Linked DNA regions of Homo sapiens: all the other regions are linked to region 1. The links are contacts of gene promoters, found by promoter capture Hi-C in blood cells and fetal thymus (Javierre and others, 2016). All regions are on one chromosome and are shown on one strand. Each heading gives the region's core, a stretch centred on a gene start or on the middle of the fragment in contact. The rest is flanking DNA. Distances are from core to core; before and after follow the strand shown. Region 1 holds the start of LRRC40 (leucine rich repeat containing 40). Region 2 has its middle 6.8 kb from the start of FUBP1. Region 3 has its middle 3.5 kb from the start of USP1. Region 4 overlaps FUBP1 (far upstream element binding protein 1). Region 5 overlaps DOCK7 (dedicator of cytokinesis 7). Region 6 has its middle 4.7 kb from the start of ZZZ3. Region 7 holds the start of ATG4C (autophagy related 4C cysteine peptidase).

Region 1 (2,806 bases), core at 91-2,590:
CTTTGTCTCAAAAAAAAAAAAAAAAAAAAGACAAAAATCCACTCTTTGCTTTTTTAGTAGGGTAACAACTATTGGTAACTTTCTCTTGTTCGATATTAGTGTAAAGGACTCCACAGAAATAAGAACAAAAAGGGTAGAGTTAAAAACCGAATTTTACAGGTAGCAATAACCTGGACTCAGGTAAAAGTGCGTGATGAAGAATTGATCAAAGGGCCTTCATCCTAGCTTTCAACTATTCTACCAATCCTCAGTAGACTTGATGGGGGTTAGAATGGTATTCCCTGGCATATGCTTTTAAAACAAAATCATTTCAGGCAAAAGAAAAGTCTAGCACCCAGGATAGTACACATACTAGGCAGGATTAATCTTAATAATTACTTGTTGAATCAAGAAGTTGTACATTTCAGATGAAAATTTTAATTTCCTAGGAAACACCGACTTACATTGAACAAAATTTTCATTTGCTATTATTCTGGACTCACCGAGAGCTCAAGATTCTAGTTTTTATCTTCACTTATTTCAAAAACCTTATGCGGTAGGAATTATCCCCAAAGTAATGAAAAAAAGGAATGAGCTTTAAAAGCGGTTGAGTAAACTGCCTAAAGTTAACAGTTTCTAAAGTAAAGAAGCAGCTGAGATTTGAACTTGCTTTTTAGGGCTCAAAAATCCAAGCTGTCTGAGCTTCACTAAAGCATGTACCACTACTTGTCTCCCTAAACTGTCTGATACACAGAACATTTATTAAATTTTAAGGATTTTTGTTTTTGTCTTCTATGTTGCCAGTCCTTCCATTTCACATTACCTCCTTTGCTGGGTAAGCTATATACCCTCAATACAACGAGAATGGTGTCAGAGTACAAGCCTTAAGAACAGAAAATTTCTTTTACTCCGTACGCCAGAGGTCTGGCGCCACCACCACAAGCGACAAACACAGGCTGGGGTCCAGAAACGCTGCCGACCGCGCCCAGATCTCAAGTTTTAGTCAAGGCCCACGTTCAGACTAGGAGAGGGGAGAAGAGAGGGTTCTCTTTCCCCACACCCTCGCCACGGTGGAAGCACAGAGGAGAAGGTTGGAGTCGCAGTAACAGTGCAAACAATAAACCCGAAAGCCCCTCTTAAGCCCGTTAAACGCACTTACTTGATTGAAGTAATTCCAGGACGCTAGGCCGGCACCGGCAACGGAAAAGGCTTCTCTGTCCTCCAGCCCAGGCGCTGGTGCTGACGACATCTGGACTGCGCCGCAGAGAGTGAAGGCCCAGCGCGAGGCCGCGAGCCCAGCGCCCAGAGCGCGCGCTCACGAAAGGAGCGGGGCATCCCAACGGCGCCACCTTTAAGCGTCACGGGTGGGGCTGCAGCTTCTGGACCTAGGACTTTGAACATGTCGCGCCTGAAGCGGATAGCGGGGCAGGATCTCCGCGCTGGTTTCAAAGCAGGTGGAAGAGACTGCGGTACCTCGGTACCCCAAGGGCTGTTGAAGGCAGCGAGGAAGAGCGGCCAGTTAAACCTGTCGGGTAGAAACCTCAGTGAAGGTAAGACCCAGAGGTACGACCCTATTGTGTCTCCTGTCAGAAAGCCTTTGGCCCAGGCAACCTCCCTTTTCTCTGGGCTGGCTTTGGCCCCCTTTCTCAGACTGCTAGCCAGAATTTCTGTGCTCTAATCTAATCCCTGTGCTCATTTCGACCGGTTTGGTTAGCCCAGTTCAGTTCCTTCCCAGGTTCCCGCAATCTCTGTTAAAGGGACCCTGCTAAAAATACGGTCTAAATTTAAACGGGGCGCTTTCTGGGATTCCCACATTCTGTGGGATAAGCAACATAATATGTGACGAAACCAGCTATCAAATCACGGGCAAATCTTTTGTTTCTTTGGCCCTTATTTTCCTCCTCTTATTGTAATCTTCAAGGGCAATTACCAAAGCTAAAATTATATGTTTTATCGGCCCCTTTGTGAACCTGCACTGTTCCCTGCCGAGACGCTCTTCTGTATGCAGCTGTGCAGAGTTCTACTTACAAGGAATAATGAGTATATTTTCTAAGTTGAAGATCAGGATAGATGCCACACAGAGTGTTTGAATGTGGGGACATCCTGAGAAACCTGTTAAAGACCAAGAAGCACAAATCTGGGTACCATGAATGAATGGCCAGATGCTCTTCTGATTGTCGTGTGTGTGTGTGTGTGTGTGTGTGTGTAAGAGAGAGAGGGAGGGGAATGGAGAGATGGAGAAATAGAGCATTTTTCCTGTAATGTTTTTCTTCATTTATATTTAGGTTTTAAGACTGATTAAAACCTTCCATTTTCCTTCTAATGATTGCTTTCTTATTGTGACATGTATAAAGTAGATTAGGCAAGCAAATGCTTCTGAATGAATGAAAAGACACAGAATCCTTACTCCACCTAAAAGAGTTTTTGATCAATGGGAACATACTCATTTTCAAACTACAGTTGTGCATATATATATATCTACTTGGTTTCCCCAAAACCTGAAACATTTTTCTCTAAACTTGCATACCTATCATGCTAACATTCTGTTCTCTTACCTGTTTAATTTTTTAACAGCATTTATCACTATCAGAATTTATATCATTTATGTTTTTTGTTTTCTCTGCCCTCCAACCAAAAGGTTAATATCATGAAGTCAGTGAGCTTTGTTTTGTGCTTTGTTGTATTTCTATCACTGAAAATAGTGCTTGGTACATAGTAGAGTCTTATTAAATTTTGCGGAAGCAATAAGTAAGTGAATGAGTATTCTCAAATCATAAGTGGTGTGCTAGAATGTACTTATTGACTAGACTCAGGTGGTTTCGTCTGT
Region 2 (2,806 bases), core at 172-2,671, 7.8 Mb before region 1:
TGGGCGACAGAGATCCTGTCTCTTAAAAGAGAAAAATTTGGGAAGAGTGTAGGTGATATTTGAAACCATGAGACTAGAGGAAATTACTAGAATCATAGATAGGGTAAAAGGGCACAAGGATTGAGTCCTAGCACTCACAAATGCAGTAGTAAGAATAACTATTACTAGGAAAGTGGGGCCTCTCCCTCACCCCTGAGATGAATCCTAATTATTCTAAGCCAGTATGACACTTGATAGAGTAAGCCTGTGACTCAACTCTGGTCAGGACAAGGTTAATAAGATTGGCAGTTGTGGCAGGGGTGGAGGGTAGGGACACTGGTAGCAGAAACTTTCCCCTTCCATTTAACAATCATGACTGCATGACACCTGGAACTGTGGCAACCATTATGCAATCATTAGGGGAGTAAAGTCAAGAAGCTGAGGGTGGTAGAAGGCAAAGATGAAAAAAACATGGGTACCTCATAAATTGTTGAGCTGCTCATCAACCAGCCTTAGAGCCACTCTACCCCTGGATTTTTTATTATTTAAGCCATTTAATAAGGGTTTTCATTACTTGTGGTCAAAAGTATCTGGATACAATAATCTCATTTAATTTTCAAAACAATGCTTAGGGTGACAAGGAGTAAACAAACTCAAAAAAGGTTAAAGAATTTGGCAAGGTCACTGAAGTAGCAAATGGTGATTTGAAGTTCATCCGACTCCAAAGTCAATTTGAACTGATTAAGAGTTGTTGATTTAAAGAATGGACACAACTAAAAGACAAAGGGGAGTGGGAGTTGAGAATTACTGACGTGAATGGCAAAGAAGGAAAGCCAGCAAGTAAGAGATGGAAAGAAAAGAGAAGTGTCAAGAGACTAGAGGAACGGAAGAAGTACATTAGGAAACAAACTGACAAGAGGTCATCTTGAGGAGAATATCAGACTTGAAGATTTTTATTGTTTGAGTTGTCTGGATGAAGACTAGATGCAGGCTGTGGCCATAAGTAGTGAGGAAATTGCATTTCGAGTAGTTAAGGATTAATGTAGTAATATTTACTACATGGCACACATTATTTTATGCACTTAGGATTCAGTGGTATGTGATCTGAGATGAAGTTCCCGGGCTGTAACCTGGCCAGAAGCTTGAAGTCTTTACCCCAAGATATAAACAGAGCACAAGAATCAGGCTGACAATTGGGATGACAATGACTCACATTCACTAGCTTGTTTCAAATAATTTAACATACACTAGGAAATTAAATGTTTAATGAATGAATGATCTATCTGATCATTCAGCTTCTCCCATTCTGACTCTTCAAACCATTGCTTAATTAGCTACAGGATATTATTGGTTAGACTGATACAAATAATTGTCTGAAAACAATAGGGAGTCTCTGCAAAGTGATCCATGGTTTCAATCCACCTTCACTCACTAGCATGCTCAAGACAAGACGGTGAGATATATGTCTATTTTGTTTACTACTGTATCTCTAGCACTTAGAACAATGCCCAGAATTTTTGTTGAATTGAATAAATGAATAGATTAATTAGGACCTACTAGATGCCAGGCATTATTGTCATCTCAAAGGTAAATAAGATAGCTCCTGCCCTTGACCGTTTACCACTTAAAAGCTCTAACTAAAACCTCTCAATCTTCATTTATATCAAAGTGCATAGTTAAGGAGCAAGGTTGTTAAGAATCTAAAGGTAATATCTGTCCTGGATAAAAGGTGTCTAAAGCTTAATATGCACATAAATTTTTTAAAACTAACATTCTTGCTTGAAAAAATAGTATTTATATTATTGCTACAATTAGATAACCTGGCATAAACAATGATTATGATAAACCATAGAAAAATAGTACCTCCAGATATTTCTTATAAAAAAATTAATTCCTTTTTCTTAAGTACATGTCCCTTCAAATTTTTTTTAAATGAAGTGAGAATATCAGTTAATATGAAGCAACATAAAGGAACAAATGGAATCAGAAGGCAAATTCCAAAGAGATCACTACTATAAATAGAGACATGGAAATGTCAGAACAGAGAAGCAAGGTTCCACTAAAAAACAACAAAATTGTTATACCAAATGAGTTTTCTATCTTGTACCCACCCACTTCCAGTTAAGGATTTCACTGGCAAAGATCCTTGATCTTTCAATAACCTATTTTCAGAAGGAAATGTTGTCAGTAAATGTTGTCAGTAAAGGTAGACATCCTGATTACAAAAATTAAGATGTTTTTGGTTCTGTACAGATTCTTCTTCCTCTTGTACCTAAGAAGCAGAAAACCTCCAACCCAAACACCGATGCTTCATATAGAAGACAGTTCACAAAATAAAGAGCACTGGATTAGAAATCTAGTCTTGGCTCTGCAATTAATCTTGGCACTTTGTAGAAGGCACTCAGCAATCTGTGTTATGGTTTCCTCCAATATAAAATGAAACAAATGGGCGAGATTACCTTCAAGGTCTTTCCAAGACTGATATTCTAAGAAAAGTTTGTGTGAAACTACCCTTCAGTGCCATCTGGCCTCAAAGGCCCTCCACATTCATAATCATATGTAGCTTTGTAGGAAAATGATAAGTGGAATAAAGAATTCAACTTGATATTTATTAAACTTTTACCAACATAAAAGCATACTGGGCAAACCAAAGAATAAGACGCGGTCCTTGACAAGCCCTCTTTTATACAGAGGAGGGGAAAAGGGAGAAGACAAAATTTCTGTATTCATAACATTTACTACAATCTAGCCAGGGAAACAAAATTTAATTCACTTTAATTCCTCAAATATTAAATATGTTTTGTGTAAAAGGGTAGTTTTCAAATCT
Region 3 (2,806 bases), core at 85-2,584, 7.8 Mb after region 1:
TGTATGATAATGTAAGAAAAAACAGGTCGGGTAGCCAGGGCCGGTGGACCGCTTGAACCCAGGAGTTCAAGATCAGCCTGGGCAACATGGCAAGACCCATCGCTACAAAAAACTCCAAAAATTGGCCGTGCGTGGTGGCACGTGCCTGTAGTCCCAGCCACTCGGGAGGATGAGGGAGGAGGATCCCCTGGCTGCAGTGAGCCGAGATGCACCACTGCACTCCAGCCTGGGCAACAGTGTGAGGCCCTGCCCTCCACCCTCCCACCCGAAAAAAGAAAAAAAAACAAAGAGTAACGATTTTTTTTTTAACCTGAGCAACTCAGTGTTGGTCCTTGCTAAAATGGGGGTCTTAGTAGGCTCAATGGGAAGGATCATCGTTCTTAGAATATTAAGATTGAGGTGTTTAACGTACAAACAGATGTTGAACCAGCAGATCACGAAATACACAAGGACAAGATTAGAAAATGTATATAGGTCAGTCTTAGCCATTGTGCACCACAGAGTGGCAGTGTCTCATTTTCTAGTACTAGCATAATTATTGCTACTTTCAAACTCTACGAGAACAGATAAGCAATTCTACTTTCCCATATTCCTGAGATCCTATTGTCTGCAGCCACTATTCTTCCTGTACACAATGTGTGGTATCAGTTAAGATTCATTTGCGGAAAATAGAATCCATTTTAGCTAGTATAAACACAAAGATATTGAATACTTGGGAGGGTTGATTAAATAGGCTCTAGATTAGTTTTTCAGGAATGAGTCCCAAAGTCTTCCCAGAACCAGGCCACCAAGGAAGCAATGACTCTTCTATGATCAGGAAATGACGTCTCTGAATCACACTGCTGCTGCCATGCCTAGGAAACCACCATCAGAAAGCTGCGTGCACCGCTGACCCTAGAACCACACTATACCCACTATGATCTGCACCAGTGCCATGCATATCCTACGTCCCGTCTGTCAAGGCCCACAGGACAAGTGGCTAGACACTGAGGTTTCTGCTAATGCTGCTTCAGAAAAATCAAACACCTCCACAACTGTGCTTGTCAACAGCAATAGCAGAAGTTTGGTGTGTCTCTGGCAATATGATTAATGTAAAAATTTAATATGCTTCTCATTCTTTTGCTTTCAGTCAGTTGTTTGTGGGAGAAATTCTAGCCACAGTTCTTGCCTAGATGAGTTTTTAAGCCCCGAAACTTTTTTCCCAGTTTCTGTGTGCTCCCCAGTTACCCCACTCTTAATGACAGCTAATCCCTTTGGAAACAATGGGATTTAATAGGTTCACAGCATTCTCAATCCTATATTTGTCAGTCTTGTGTGGGTAAATGCCAGGCATATTTCCTTCCAAAGTTTCACAGGCACTGTTTCTGTGTACAGTCATCCCTTGGTATCCATGGGGGATTGGTTCCAGGACCGTTATGGATATCAAAATCCGAGGATGCTCAAGTCCCATATATAAAATGGCATAGTATTTGCATACAACTTATGCACATCCCACCTATACTTTAAATCATCTCTAGATTACTTAATTACCTAATACAATGCCTACACATCATTCACATGGATTTAACATAGTATTTAACACTTGGCACGTGGCAAATTCAAGTTTTGCTTTTTGGAACTTTGTGTACCTTTTTCATAAGATTTTTTGATCTGTGGTTGGTTGAATCCATGTATATGGAACCCATGAATGTGGAGGGCCAACTGTACTTCAGTCTAAAGGTATAGAAGAAGTGTGGTTTTTTTCCGCCCTTTAAATCTTCAAATTATGAAACTTTTATTTTTATTTTTTTGAGATGGAGTCTTGCTCTGTCCCCCAGGCTGGAGTGCAATGGCATGATCTTGGCTCACTGCAACCTCCACCTCCTGGGTTCAAGCAATTCTCCTGCCTCAGCCTCCCAAGTAGCTGGGATTACTGGTGCCTGCCACGACGCCCAGCTAATTTTTGTATTTTTAATAGAGACGGGGTTTCACAGTGTTGGCCAGGCTAGTCTCGAACTCCTGACCTCGTGATCCGCCTCGGCCTCCCAAAGTGCTGAGATTACAGGCATGAACCACCACGTCCCGCCCAAATTATGAGACTTTTAATCCACTTGGATTACAGCAGAATTTCTCCTTTAGCAAAACTGTATTCTTTTCCATTTCTACATGCAAATTGGTTACTTCTGGCCTGAATTCATATCTCATAGAACTTGGTTTAAAGTGTCAAGAAAAAGCCAGCAAATACCAAGTTTATAGATATTTCCAGCCATTTCCCTTCGTGCCACAATTTTGATTGGCGTGTGATCTGTCTTCTAAAGCTGGCAACAGGTTTACCAAATGTCTGGCAACTGGAGAACAAAGGTCACCAGTTTTCCATCTTGCAGTATCTGAGTCTTTACCACCCACTGCCCAAATGCTTCCACTAAAAACCACATTTCTTTTAAGGTTATGTGTAGCACAAATTTATAGGAACCAAACTCTGCATCCGATAGGAATAGGTTTGTTTATAAGTAACAGAATATTTTTAAGTGTCCTTAGCTAAAATTAATATTCATGTCTTTATCATGTATACATAATGCAGAAGTAGGCAGTCTAGATTAGTATGGTGGTTCTGTGACCATCAGGGACCTAATTAATTTCTTCCATTCTCAACATGTGGCTTCTACCTTTCGGTCCTTTATAGCTGTTTAAATTCCAGCCATCATGTCTACAGTCCTATGCAGGAAAGAAAAAAGGACAGAGATGACCATGGTCCCCTCTCTTTAAGGATACTTCCTGGAAGCTGTACACACCATTCCTACTTATAGCCCATTGGCCAGAACTTAGT
Region 4 (2,806 bases), core at 204-2,703, 7.8 Mb before region 1:
AGTTTAGGTTGAGATTGCCTTGTAATGTTGTGGGGGGTTTTTTTGTTTTTTTTTTTTTGGGCATAGCTTTGTGGTCACTGTCAGATACACTTTAATATGTCAGATTTTTGTAGTTTGATAGGCTTTTCTCCCCCCAGTCTTCAGTTCCTGAGGTGGAAGCATCATTAGCCTTTAGCATGTGATATTTTGCTAGTAATGGACCTAAAGTACGTTGTCTTGTGTCATTCTAATGTGCTTAACATACATTAAGGTCAGTGATTTCTTAAGAATCAGATAACTATTTTAATGTCTGTGCATCTTTTGAACGTGAAGAGAATGAAGTATCGTTTCTTTTTTAGATTACTGAGTTGGGGTTGAATTTTGGCAGTTTTGGTTCAAATGATAAACCATACCTTCAGATATTTCAATAAATGTTTATATTGTTATTTATTCTTGTTTGGGAGGGGAGAAGCTTTGTACTTAATTGGCAAAAAATTAAAAGACACTTAATTTTGCAGATCAACCAGATGCTAAGAAAGTTGCTCCTCAAAATGACTGTAAGTATTCCTTTTAAACTGGGTCAAAAGCTAAAGTAACAATTTCAATGTTAAGATTTTGTTCATATTATTGGGTATCTTTGAAGTTAGTTGGTTTATGAGTATTTTGGATCAGCTAGCCTGAATTTCTTTGTAAATATATACCTTTTTCTCCTATTTTACAATCTGTCCCATTAATTGTGGCCGGGTATATGTAAAGATTGGTTGCTGAATTATTTTACATATTTAACAACTCCAATTCTTGATCTATACTTGTACAACTTGAAAAAGGAAATTATTTTGTTCTGTGCCATTGCTAATATAATGTCTTCCCTTTCATTGGCTCTCTTGCCCCTGTCAATGCCAATATAAATATTGTGTAAAAAATTTGACTCTCTTCAAGGTGTTGTCTGTGCATTAGGGAGAGATTTTTGAATGTTTGATGTGATTGTGTTGTTAAATATATAAGTAAATTTAAATTTTGAATTTTTGTTTTATTTTTATTTAATTTTTTGATAGCTTTTGGAACACAGTTACCACCGATGCATCAGCAGCAAAGGTATAGTCACAAGATTTTCAAAAAGTACTCTGCAAGTTTTGGTTGAGCTGTATGTAAAAACACAACCACATTGGTGTATATTGAATATGTGTCTGTGTATTTTTTGGTGTACCTAGTTCATATCACTCCCCTTGGGAAGGTACCATAAAGTGATGATTTTTCTTTTGAGTGAGAAAAATTTGTGATTTGGAGAGATAGGTGGAATTAACCACATTTTAGAAGAACAGGGGTGAATTAGAGTAACTGTTAAGATGACATTCTCTAAACTCCACTTCAACTTCTTTACAGTTAATGCCTTCAGACTGTTCCATTCATCATCCCTTCTTCACTTGATGTGTCATCTTAAATTTCTTAATTTAACTACTCAAGTAATAAGATCATATTTTTTGACATGAGTCTGAGCCTAGAACCTTAGTTTAAGCCATTGGGAGACATTAGACTTCCATTTTTATTAATAGATTATCTTTTATTTGTAAACAAAGTATCTTTCATTGAAGGAAAATGGTGCTTTCTGTTATTTCTTAGCAGATCTGTAATGACAGAAGAATACAAAGTTCCAGATGGAATGGTTGGATTCAGTAAGTAACTTGATTTTTAAAGTTTTGAAAACATGATCAAAACATACTTTAGAATCTTTCAACCAAAAAAAAAATTTTTTTTTTTCTAACTAGTAATTGGCAGAGGAGGTGAACAGATCTCACGCATACAACAGGAATCTGGATGCAAAATACAGATAGCTCCTGGTAATGTTACATTCTCATGGTATTTTCAGTGTGACTAGAAAACTAGCTTTTTTTTTTTTTTAAGCCTTCTAGTAACAATAATGCTACTTTTAATCTTTTGACCTGAAGTTATCTGTTTGTTTTAAATTGTAGACAGTGGTGGCCTTCCAGAAAGGTCCTGTATGTTAACTGGAACACCTGAATCTGTCCAGTAAGTTTGAAAAATCTTAAAAATCTACTTAAGTAACAACAGCAGAACTCTTTGAATTTTGTCTCTTCTCTTTGTTACTGCTTTATTTTACACTGTGGTTTCGCTGCCACCTTCCCTCAAAGTCCTCCAACTCCTTTGAAGTTTATGCCTCATGCCTTTCTCAGGTGGGGTTCATCATCTGAATCATTAAACACAGAAAATGGTTAAAACAACTCCATATCTACTCCAGTCTCTACTTGTAAAGCCACGTGTAGCCTGGAGAAGAATGCACAGTCAGGTCGACTGGTGACACTTAAAACTCAGACATTAAGCTCAAGTGGACTGTTGTGTTGCCTGCATTTCCCTAGTTCCATTCACTTTTCCACTCCTCTCCCAGGCTCTTTAATACTGTATTTCCCCACCTCCAAATCTTCAGCATCTAACCCCACGCTCTCCCACTTAAGCTTATTTACTGAGAAAATGGAAGCAAATGATAAGAAGCTTTTCTTTTTCCCTACCACTAAACCTACCAGCCTTCATTTTTCCTCTGTTCACATAGTACTCAGGTAATTGCTTTCCTTTTGTGTTCGAGTGCCTAAAGCCAGCCCTTTCTTCCTACTGAAGGTTCAGCTTGCAGTTGTACTTTCTTCTGCATTGTTAGTTCTCCCTCATTACTAGGTTTTTTCTTTTCTTTTTTTTGAGACGAAGTCTCGCTCTGTTGCCAGGCTGGAGTGCAGGGGCACGATCTCGGCTCACTGCAACCTCCGCCTCCCGAGTAGCTGGGACTACCGGTGCATGCCACCACACCCAGCTAATTTTT
Region 5 (2,806 bases), core at 193-2,692, 7.8 Mb after region 1:
ATTTTCCATTTACATACCCAAAACAGGAATTTAGAATTGCAGAACTTTACTTAGTAAAACCTTTGTGTAAAATAATTTAAATACGGGGATAACTAATACCAGTGACAACACCTTAACTTGATTAAATCTTATTACACCAATGATAGTAGTAAGAACTTCATGATTCTTAGCAACTAAAATGAATGATTTCTCTGTTTCAAATTAAAACCAGCCATCAGTTTTTGACGATGTAAACCAGTAAATTAGAATCTACTTAAAGCTATCTTGTAGCACCATGAAGGTAACACAGCTGGAGTTTGAGAAATTACCTATTTTCTGACACTTGTAAAGTTTAGAAGCATATAAAAAGTAAAATTAGGTGCTTTAATTCATCTAAAATTATATGCAAGTCATACAGAAAAAAAATTTGAGAAGTAACATTTTAATTCTTGGCAAGTTTTTCCAAAACGATGCATAGTAATGATTTCCAGAACAGTTTAGAACAATGGTTTTTGGGTAGTAGTGCAGTTTACAGAATGGCATCATTTATAATCCTTTTCTTCTACTGACCAGTTACATGAATCACTTAAGAACTAACCAGATCTGGGTGCGGTGGCTCACATCTGTAATCCCAACACTTTGGGAGGCCGAGGCGGGTGGATCACGAAGTCAGGAGTTCAAGACCAGCCTGGCCAAGATGGTGAAAACCCGTCTCTACTAAAAATACAGAAATTAATTAGCCAGGCACAGTGGCAGGAGCCTGTAATCCCAGCTACTTGGGAGACTGAAGCAGGAGAATCGCTTGAACCCGGGCAGCAGAGGTTGGAGTGAGCAGAGATGGAGCCACTGCAACTCTAGCCTGGGCGACAGAGACTCCGTCTCAAAAAAAAAAAAAAAAAAAAAACTATCATCTGTACACACACGCACACACACATACATACATACACACACATATATATAAAAGAACTGATCAGATTGGCTGGGTGCAGTGGCTCAGGCCTATAATCCCAGCACTCTGGGAGGCAGGGGCAGGCGGATCATGAGGCCAGGAGTTCAAGAACAGCCTGGTCAATATGGTGAAACCCCATCTCTACCAAAAACACAAAAATCAGCCAGGTGTAGTAGCCCGTGCCTGTAATCCGAACTACTTGGGTGGCTGAGGCATGAGAATCACTGGAACCTGGAAAGTGGAGGTTGCAGCGAGCCAAAATGGCGCCACTGCACTTCAGCCTGGGCGACAGAGCAAGACTCTTAAGTCAAAAACAAAAACCAGCACTTTGGGAGGCCGAGGCAGACAGATCACGAGGTCAGGAGATTGAGACCATCCTGGCTAACAGTCAAACCCCGTCTCTACTAAAAATACAAAAAATTAGCCAGGCGAGGGGGCAGGAGCCTGTAGTCCCAGCTACTCGGGAGGCTGAGGCAGGAGAATGGCGTGAACCCGGGAGGCGGAGCTTGCAGTGAGCTGAGATCACGCCACTGCACTCCAGCCTGGGTGACAGAGCTAGACTCCGTTTCAAAAAAAAAAAACAAAAACTGGTCAGATTTAACGTATTGCCTTCATTCTATAGTCAATGTAGTAAATATTCAAAATATACTAAAAAATATCTACTTCTGAGAGCCTAAGTGATGGTTGATATCCCACACTCCATGTACTTTAATGGGCAGTATCATCTCAAATTCCTCTTATCTATATCAATTCAAAGACTGAATCACAAAAACATTTTTCAGATGAGTCTACATTGTTAGACCAAATCTGAGTCAGAAGGGCATAACCTCAAAACTCTATTTGAGGAGCCAAATGAACAATAAGGAAAGGTAAGGAGTCAAGAATGGAAATCCCTCCCCTCCAAAAAAAGTGACATTTTCCCTTCTTCTTTGGGGGTCAGTGGTGGGTATAAACATAAGGGAGAGAATAAGGAACCACTGAAGGGTCACTTCTCATTAGGTTACATTTATATAACAGTTTGGACAAAAATCTCAGAAATCTCAGTAATATCAAGGACTTTATGATTTATATAATTATGCAAAACCAATTATTTTCTGACATCCTTCAGAACAGAGGCTTCCTCTTAAACATTCGTATGATACAAACCTCTTACAAACTTCATTTTTCTTAAAATGGAACTTTCTCACATCAGGAATTTGTGTTAGTTCTTAGAACTGGCTGTCTCTCGAGTATTAAGAGGCCCAGTGTCTATCTTAGACCCATTCCATTCAAAACTTACAGGTAGCGCTCAGGACTGTTTAAGGATTTCCATTAGTGATTCTGAAAGGTGGGGAGAACCATGACTTTATTACCATCTCATCATCCTATGAAAGAATATAAGACATTATGTAACTGTGTTTTTTTTTTTTTGAGACGGAGTCTCACTCTGTTGCCCAGGCTGGAGTGCAGTGGCGCAATCTCGGCTCACTGCAAGCTCCGCCTCCTGGGTTCATGCCATTCTCCTGCCTCCGCCTCCTGAGTAGCTGGGACTACAGATGCCTGCCACCACGCCCGGCTAATTTTTTGTATTTTTAGTAGAGACGGGATTTCATGTGTTAGCCAGGATGATCTCGATCTCCTGACCTCGTGATCCACCAGCCTCAGCCTCCCAATGTGCTGGGATTACAGGCGTGAGCCACCGCGCCCAGCCTACTGCGATTTTTTTTTAATTGAGAAGGTACTCCTTGTTGAAATGGGGTATTAAAGTGTTACCCCAATAGCATTTACATATTTAGAATCATTTCTAGGAAAAACTTAGTACCAAGAATGTCCATTAACAAGTCATGAAATCATTCATCACTTACCACTTCAGTATACTAGTTTAAAATGAAATTTTAA
Region 6 (2,806 bases), core at 101-2,600, 7.5 Mb before region 1:
CCTTAGCCTCCAGAGTAGCTGGGAGTACAGGTGTGTACCACCAAGCCTGGCTAATTTTAAAATATTTTTTATAGAGATGGGATGTTGCTATGTTGCCCAAGCTAGGCCTGAACTCCTGACTTCAAGTGATTCTCCCACATTGGCCTCCCAAAGTGCTGGGATTACAGGTGTAAGCCACCATGCTTGGCCCAGTTCTTGGGGTTTTTGAAGAATATTTAATGACATAGAAAAAAGCTTATGATCCAATGAAAGAAATTAGGATATATGACTTCATCTTAGATTTTATATACGTGGGAAAAAAAACAGTGGTTTCTTTCAGGCAATAGTAAGTAGTAGTAGTAAATAAATAATAACTTCCATCCCATGTAGGGGGCTTTGCATCAACTGTTCTCTTTCTCTGGAGTGTTTTTCCCACCTTTGCCCAACTCCTAAATGCATTCACACTTTAGAAGTGGTGAATGCATACTTCATCTCAGATTGGATGTTGCTTCCTCAGAAGTACTTTAGAACATGTATGTACTTTTGGGTATATGGACATATTCTCATAGTGACCTGCGCTTTTTTTTTGTATATTCTCCAATTTAAAACTTTTAATTAAAAAGTAAACTTTAAGGCCGGGCGCGGTGGCTCACGCCTGTAATCTCAGCACTTTGGGAGGCCGAGGTGGGCGGATCACAAGGTCAGGAGATCGAGACCATCCTGACTAACACGGCGAAACCCCGCCTCTGCTAAAAATACAAAAAATTAGCCGGGCGTAGTGGCGGGTGGCTGTAGTCCCAGCTACTCGGGAGGCTGAGGCAGGAGAATGGCGTGAACCTGGGGGGCGGAGCTTGCAGTGACCCGAGATCGCGCCACTGCATTCCAGCCTGGGCGACAGAGCGATCCGTCTCAAAAAAAAAAGTAAACTTTAATGTCGAAAATGCAAACTTGGGGAGGGCAGAAAGAGCACGCACAAGGCTGTCACTTCACACTTGGAGGGTTGCACAGCGGCCAGCAGAGGCGCTCCTCACTTCCCAGATGGAAGGAGGGGTGGGGGGCGGGGCGGCCGGGCAGAGGCCCTCCTCACTTCCCCGACTTGCTCCTCACATTCCAGACGGTGTGGTGGCCGGGCAGAGGCCCTCCTCACTTCGCAGACGGGGTGGGGGCCGGGCAGATGTGCTCCTCACTTCCTAGACGGGGTGGGGGCCGGTCAGAGGCGCTCCTCACTTCCCAGATGGGGTGGGGGCCGAGCAGAGGCGCTCCTCACTTCCTAGACGGGGTGGGGGCCAGGCAGAAGCGCTCCTCACTTCCCAGACAATGGGGGGACTGGGCAGAGGCGCTCCTCACTTCCTAGAGGGGGTGGGGGCCAGGCAGAAGCGCTCCTCACTTCCCAGACGGTGCAGGCCGGGCAGATGGGCTCCTGACATCCCAGATGTCAGTGGCCGGGCAGTGGCGCTCCGAACTTCCCAGACAGTTGGGTGGCCAGGCAGAGGCGCTCCTCACTTTCCAGACGGGGCGGGAGCTGGGCAGAGGCGCTCCTCACTTGCCAGACAGTGGAGCAGCCAGGCAGAGGTGCTTCTCACTTCCCAGACGGTGGGGTGGCGGGGGGCGTGGGGGGGGGGTGGAGGGGGGAGGGCAGGGCAGAGGCGCTCCTCACTTCCCAGACGGTGGAGCAGCGGGGCAGAGGTGCTCTCACTTCCCAGATGGTGGAGCAGCGGGGCAGAGGTGCTCCTCACTTCCCAGACGGGATGGGGGCGGGGCAGAAGTGCTCCTCACTTCCCAGAAGGTGAGGCGGCGGGGCAGGGGTGCTCCTCACTTCCCAGACGGTGCGGGCCGGGCAGATGGGCTCCTGACATCCCAGATGGTGCAGTGGCCGGGCAGTGGCGCTCCTCACTTCCCAGACAGTTGGGCGGCCAGGCAGGAGGGCTCATCACTTTACAGACAGGGCGGCAGCTGGGCAGAGGCGCTTCTCACTTCCCAGACGGGTGACCTGCACTTTTCATGAATGGTACTAACCAGTTTGAATTTATGTGATTATATTTTAAATGTCAGCCTCCCTCCCTAGACTGTGAGCTCTGTCAGAGTAGGGCCTGTGCTTGCTTTGTTCACCACTGTATCTCTAGCACCTTGTATGGCACCTGGCATATTTGTTGAAAGAATGAACTACATCAATGATTTTCAAAGTGTGTTCTGAGGTAGCATCTTATGTGTCGTGGTAAGGGACTGAGGAAAATGTCAGCTGGTTGCCTCCTCCCAGGTCCTGTTTTATTTGGCTCAAATATTGGATCCTGGCATAAGAATATGAGTATACAAGAAATTTCCAGTGCTTCAGAAAATATTGTACAAACTGCTGAATTAGTTGATGTTAATGTATCTTCCATCTTCAATATAACGTGATCCTAGGTCAAAATAACAAAGGGGGCCAGGCGTGGTGGCTCACGCCTGTAATCCCAGTACTTTGGGAGGCTGAGGTGGGTGGAAGCTTGGGGCCAGGAGTTTTGAGACCAGCCTGGGCAACATGGCAAAACCTCATCTCTATAAAAAATACAAAAATTAACTGGGCACAGTGGTGCGTATCTCAGCTACAAGGGACACAGGAGGCTGCAGTGAGCCTAGACTGTGCCAGTGCACACCAGCTTGGGCGACAGAACGAGATCCTGTCTCCAAAAGAAAAAAAAAATAACAAAGGCCATGTAGGAATATACATGTCGTAATTAGGGAGTGGTATTTGCCAGCAAGGTTGGCAGTGGTTCCCTTTTCCAGGAGCAATGAAGCTTCTCTTTCCTACTCTTAATTGAGGATCTCAGGGGCTCCCATCCCTTTCCAC
Region 7 (2,806 bases), core at 86-2,585, 7.4 Mb after region 1:
AGCATTAATTAAATGGCTTTTAATGACTTTTTGCTAAATTATACAATTCTTTAGATGGGCCACTTTTTGACATGTGGTTCTAAAAATTTTATAGCGAATGAACTGGTAATTCAATATAGCCTCAGATTATTGGACTAAATAGAAACTCTTCCTGTTCAAAGAAGAAGCTTTATCAATTTGAAACTCAGAAAATACATAGACTTTACCTTTCAAAGCCTTTCCACTCCCTCTGGGTATTCTCAATGGCTCATAATCTAATTACAAGTCACAAGCAAGCAAGAAGATCATTCCCTTGTCTCTTTCTGCCATCAACTGACACAAAATCATTGCCAAAAACCCACCGGGGACATATGGTCCGAGCAGGAAAACATAAGAAAACTCCTAAGTAATTCGGATATAAAAAGATGTAAGACGAGGTATTCTTCTGTAACTATAGGGTAGCAGTGAGCCCCATGTGGGTAAATAACCAATACAAAACGAAAAGGTAAGCCAAAGAAATCACAAGAAATATAAACTCAATAAGCAGTGATGCTGAGTTGACCGCTGAAGGTTCTCATATATGAATATAGTCATCATATGTAAGAATTTATTCTACACCTCCAACCTCAAAAGCCCTTAGATGTGGGTAGGGTTGGGAGAGTTCACGGTGAGCGGGAACCAAATGAAGTGAATGAACGTTAATATTTAGATGGAAAGGCATTAATATATGCAAGGCAGTGTGTTATGGCTTGAAGCAGTAACAAACACCAAAAAGGGAGAAAGAGGCTAGGAATGAGAACAGAGAGACAGTGGGGATCCAGTTATTATTATTATTTCCCTTTTTTTATTTTTTAAACGAGGAAAAACAGGGCCGACAGAGCACTGGCATGAGGAGGGGTCAAATGGATGCGATAGATCAGGGGAAAGAGTCTTGCCTGCAACATCTAAGAAAACCACAAGGAAAGGAGGAACAGCTGCCCACAGTTAGGCTTACGGTTTATCTCTGCAACCCAGGACAAAGCGAGGAAGAGTTAGAAGACAAATGACACTAGAAAGGAGAGACAAGGAAGGCGCCAAAACCCTCAGAGAACCCAGATGGTTGGCCACAGGGTCTTCACTGAAGGCGGACCCCCGCAAGAAACCCAGTCATTCGGGGACCAGAGACGCTAAGTCCCAAACTTCTTGACTCCTTTAGCCTCAAGCCGATCCCTCACCGAAAGAGAAGGACTGGAGAACTGTAAAAATGTGCAGGAGCCACCAACCCGGCAAATGCTCCAGCTCTAGCAGCAGCCGCCACAAAACCAGCCCGCACACACGCAGACGTTCCGACCTCAGCGCCGCAGCTACAGGTACTTTGAGCACCCCGGCCACCGTAGTAAGAGGAACCGCCTCCGCGTCAAATCCAACAGATCAGCCACTTCCGGGATACGAAAGCCTTGCGATTGGCAGTAGCGATAGCAGCGGCGTAAAGGCCTCTGCTATGCTTACTTTATCCATCCCTTTTTCCCACCTGTTCGCCACCCCAAGCCGCTAATCCACCAATGCAGCAAGCGCAGAACCAAGAGAAAGTATCCGTCTGTGAGCATTGTCTCTCTGATAGACAAACCACATTACGGCTGCCATAAATTCCTCTCGAGCACTTGGACTTCAACTACCAGCAGGCCATGCAGCATCACGCCCTTGCCTCTGGCGTAGGAACTGCAAGATCCAGCATGCATTGCGGCCCTCCTTCCTCGCACTCAGGACCAAGATAGAGCCAACCCAAGCCTCACTTTGATTTAAAAAAAAAAAAAAAAAAAAAGCCAGGATGCCTTCTTTTCCTGTTGTGAAGGAACTCTAAGCCAAGCCATTATTAGGACTGTAGGTTATTTATAAAACATCAAGGGATATGTGCACTCATTTTCCATATTCAGATTATTTTCAAGCATTAAAACACAGGACAGTCGGGCGCGGTGGTTCGCGTCTGTAATCCCAGCACTTTGGGAGGCCGAGGCGGGTGGATCGCTTGAGGTTGGGAGTTCGAGACCAACCTGGCCAACATGGTGAAAGCCCGTCTCTGTTAAAAAATTAAAAAATTAGCCGGGCGTGGCGGCGGGCGCCTGTAATTCCAGCTACTCGGGAGCCTGAGGCAGGAGAATTGCTTGAACCCGGGAGGCAAAGGTTGCAGTGAGCAGAGATCGCGCCACTGCACTCCAGCCTGGGCGACAGAGCGAGGCTTTGTGGGGAAAAAAAAAAAAAAAAGAAGGAAAAGAAAAAGAAAGAAAGAAAAAAGGACGGTCCGAAGATGCTTTTTATAACGTGGAAATTTTTGGCCAGGCGCGGCGGCTGACGCCTGTAATCCCAGCATTTTGGGAGGCCGAGGCGGGCGGATCACTTGAGCCCAGGAGTTCCAGACCAGCCTGGCCAACATGGTGAAATCCCGTCTCTACTAAAAATATAAAAAATTAGCCGGGTGCGGTGGCGCGCGCCTGTAGTCCCAACTACTCAGGAGGCTGAGGCGGGAGAATCGCTTGAACTCGGGAGGCGGAGTTTTCAGTGAGCCAAGATTGTGCCTCTGCACTCCAGCCTGGGCGACAGAGCAAGACCCTGTCTCAAAAAAGTAAAAATAAATAAATAAATAAATAAATAAGTGGAAATTTTTATCTTCACTCCTAAATGATGTCAAGAGAAATACTGTTACTGTAAAATGTAATCCTATGCCGTTTTACAGTACCGCAGATTTTGTTGGAGCAAGGACTACCAGACATGCTTCTGAATTACATAGGAAATTATACTAAAAACTAAAAATAAAATATGAAGTCTATGCCACCGGACTATGAAACCACAT

What was found. Contacts are between HindIII fragments. The CHiCAGO score rates a contact against its expected background, and 5 or more counts as called.
Region 2: a fragment that was not itself captured here is called in contact with the fragment with the promoter of LRRC40 in region 1 in 1 of 17 cell types (total CD4 T cells); the score reaches 8.4 in total CD4 T cells.
Region 3: a fragment that was not itself captured here is called in contact with the fragment with the promoter of LRRC40 in region 1 in 4 of 17 cell types (non-activated CD4 T cells, total CD4 T cells, naive CD4 T cells and 1 more); the score reaches 22.9 in non-activated CD4 T cells.
Region 4: a contact is called between a fragment that was not itself captured here and the fragment with the promoter of LRRC40 in region 1, in 2 of 17 cell types (total B cells and fetal thymus). The highest score is 12.3, in total B cells.
Region 5: a fragment that was not itself captured here is called in contact with the fragment with the promoter of LRRC40 in region 1 in 1 of 17 cell types (total CD4 T cells); the score reaches 5.3 in total CD4 T cells.
Region 6: a contact is called between a fragment that was not itself captured here and the fragment with the promoter of LRRC40 in region 1, in 3 of 17 cell types (naive CD8 T cells, total CD4 T cells and naive B cells). The highest score is 8.6, in naive CD8 T cells.
Region 7: a contact is called between the fragment with the promoter of ATG4C here and the fragment with the promoter of LRRC40 in region 1, in 9 of 17 cell types (total CD4 T cells, non-activated CD4 T cells, naive CD8 T cells and 6 more). The highest score is 27.0, in total CD4 T cells.

The regions. Positions count from the first base shown.
Region 1 is chr1:70,204,113-70,206,918 of GRCh38, reverse strand. It overlaps LRRC40 (leucine rich repeat containing 40), which reads left to right and starts at 1,340. Exons shown (of 15, transcript NM_017768.5): 1 at 1,340-1,529. The coding sequence starts at 1,379. It also overlaps a transcript of SRSF11 not described here. RefSeq lists enhancers at 1,117-1,426, 1,687-1,746. The HindIII fragment of the contact is 8,465 bases long and covers 1-2,806 here.
Region 2 is chr1:77,984,502-77,987,307 of GRCh38, reverse strand. It overlaps a transcript of DNAJB4 not described here. Among named protein-coding and RNA genes, the nearest start is that of FUBP1, 6.8 kb to the right of the region's middle. The HindIII fragment of the contact is 598 bases long and covers 1,123-1,720 here.
Region 3 is chr1:62,432,132-62,434,937 of GRCh38, reverse strand. No RefSeq gene overlaps it. Among named protein-coding and RNA genes, the nearest start is that of USP1, 3.5 kb to the left of the region's middle. The HindIII fragment of the contact is 3,951 bases long and covers 1-2,806 here.
Region 4 is chr1:77,965,895-77,968,700 of GRCh38, reverse strand. It overlaps FUBP1 (far upstream element binding protein 1), which reads left to right. Exons shown (of 20, transcript NM_003902.5): 3 at 498-536; 4 at 1,035-1,074; 5 at 1,600-1,652; 6 at 1,746-1,817; 7 at 1,950-2,007. Among named protein-coding and RNA genes, the nearest start is that of FUBP1, 12 kb to the left of the region's middle. The HindIII fragment of the contact is 1,999 bases long and covers 454-2,452 here.
Region 5 is chr1:62,452,060-62,454,865 of GRCh38, reverse strand. It overlaps DOCK7 (dedicator of cytokinesis 7), which reads left to right. Exons shown (of 50, transcript NM_001367561.1): 50 at 1-140. Among named protein-coding and RNA genes, the nearest start is that of USP1, 16 kb to the right of the region's middle. The HindIII fragment of the contact is 5,172 bases long and covers 1-2,806 here.
Region 6 is chr1:77,685,960-77,688,765 of GRCh38, reverse strand. No RefSeq gene overlaps it. Among named protein-coding and RNA genes, the nearest start is that of ZZZ3, 4.7 kb to the right of the region's middle. The HindIII fragment of the contact is 2,227 bases long and covers 237-2,463 here.
Region 7 is chr1:62,782,661-62,785,466 of GRCh38, reverse strand. ATG4C (autophagy related 4C cysteine peptidase) reads right to left here and starts at 1,335. Exons shown (of 11, transcript NM_032852.4): 1 at 1,194-1,335. RefSeq lists a silencer at 855-1,149 and enhancers at 1,125-1,304, 1,425-1,484, 1,585-1,634. The HindIII fragment of the contact is 3,523 bases long and covers 170-2,806 here.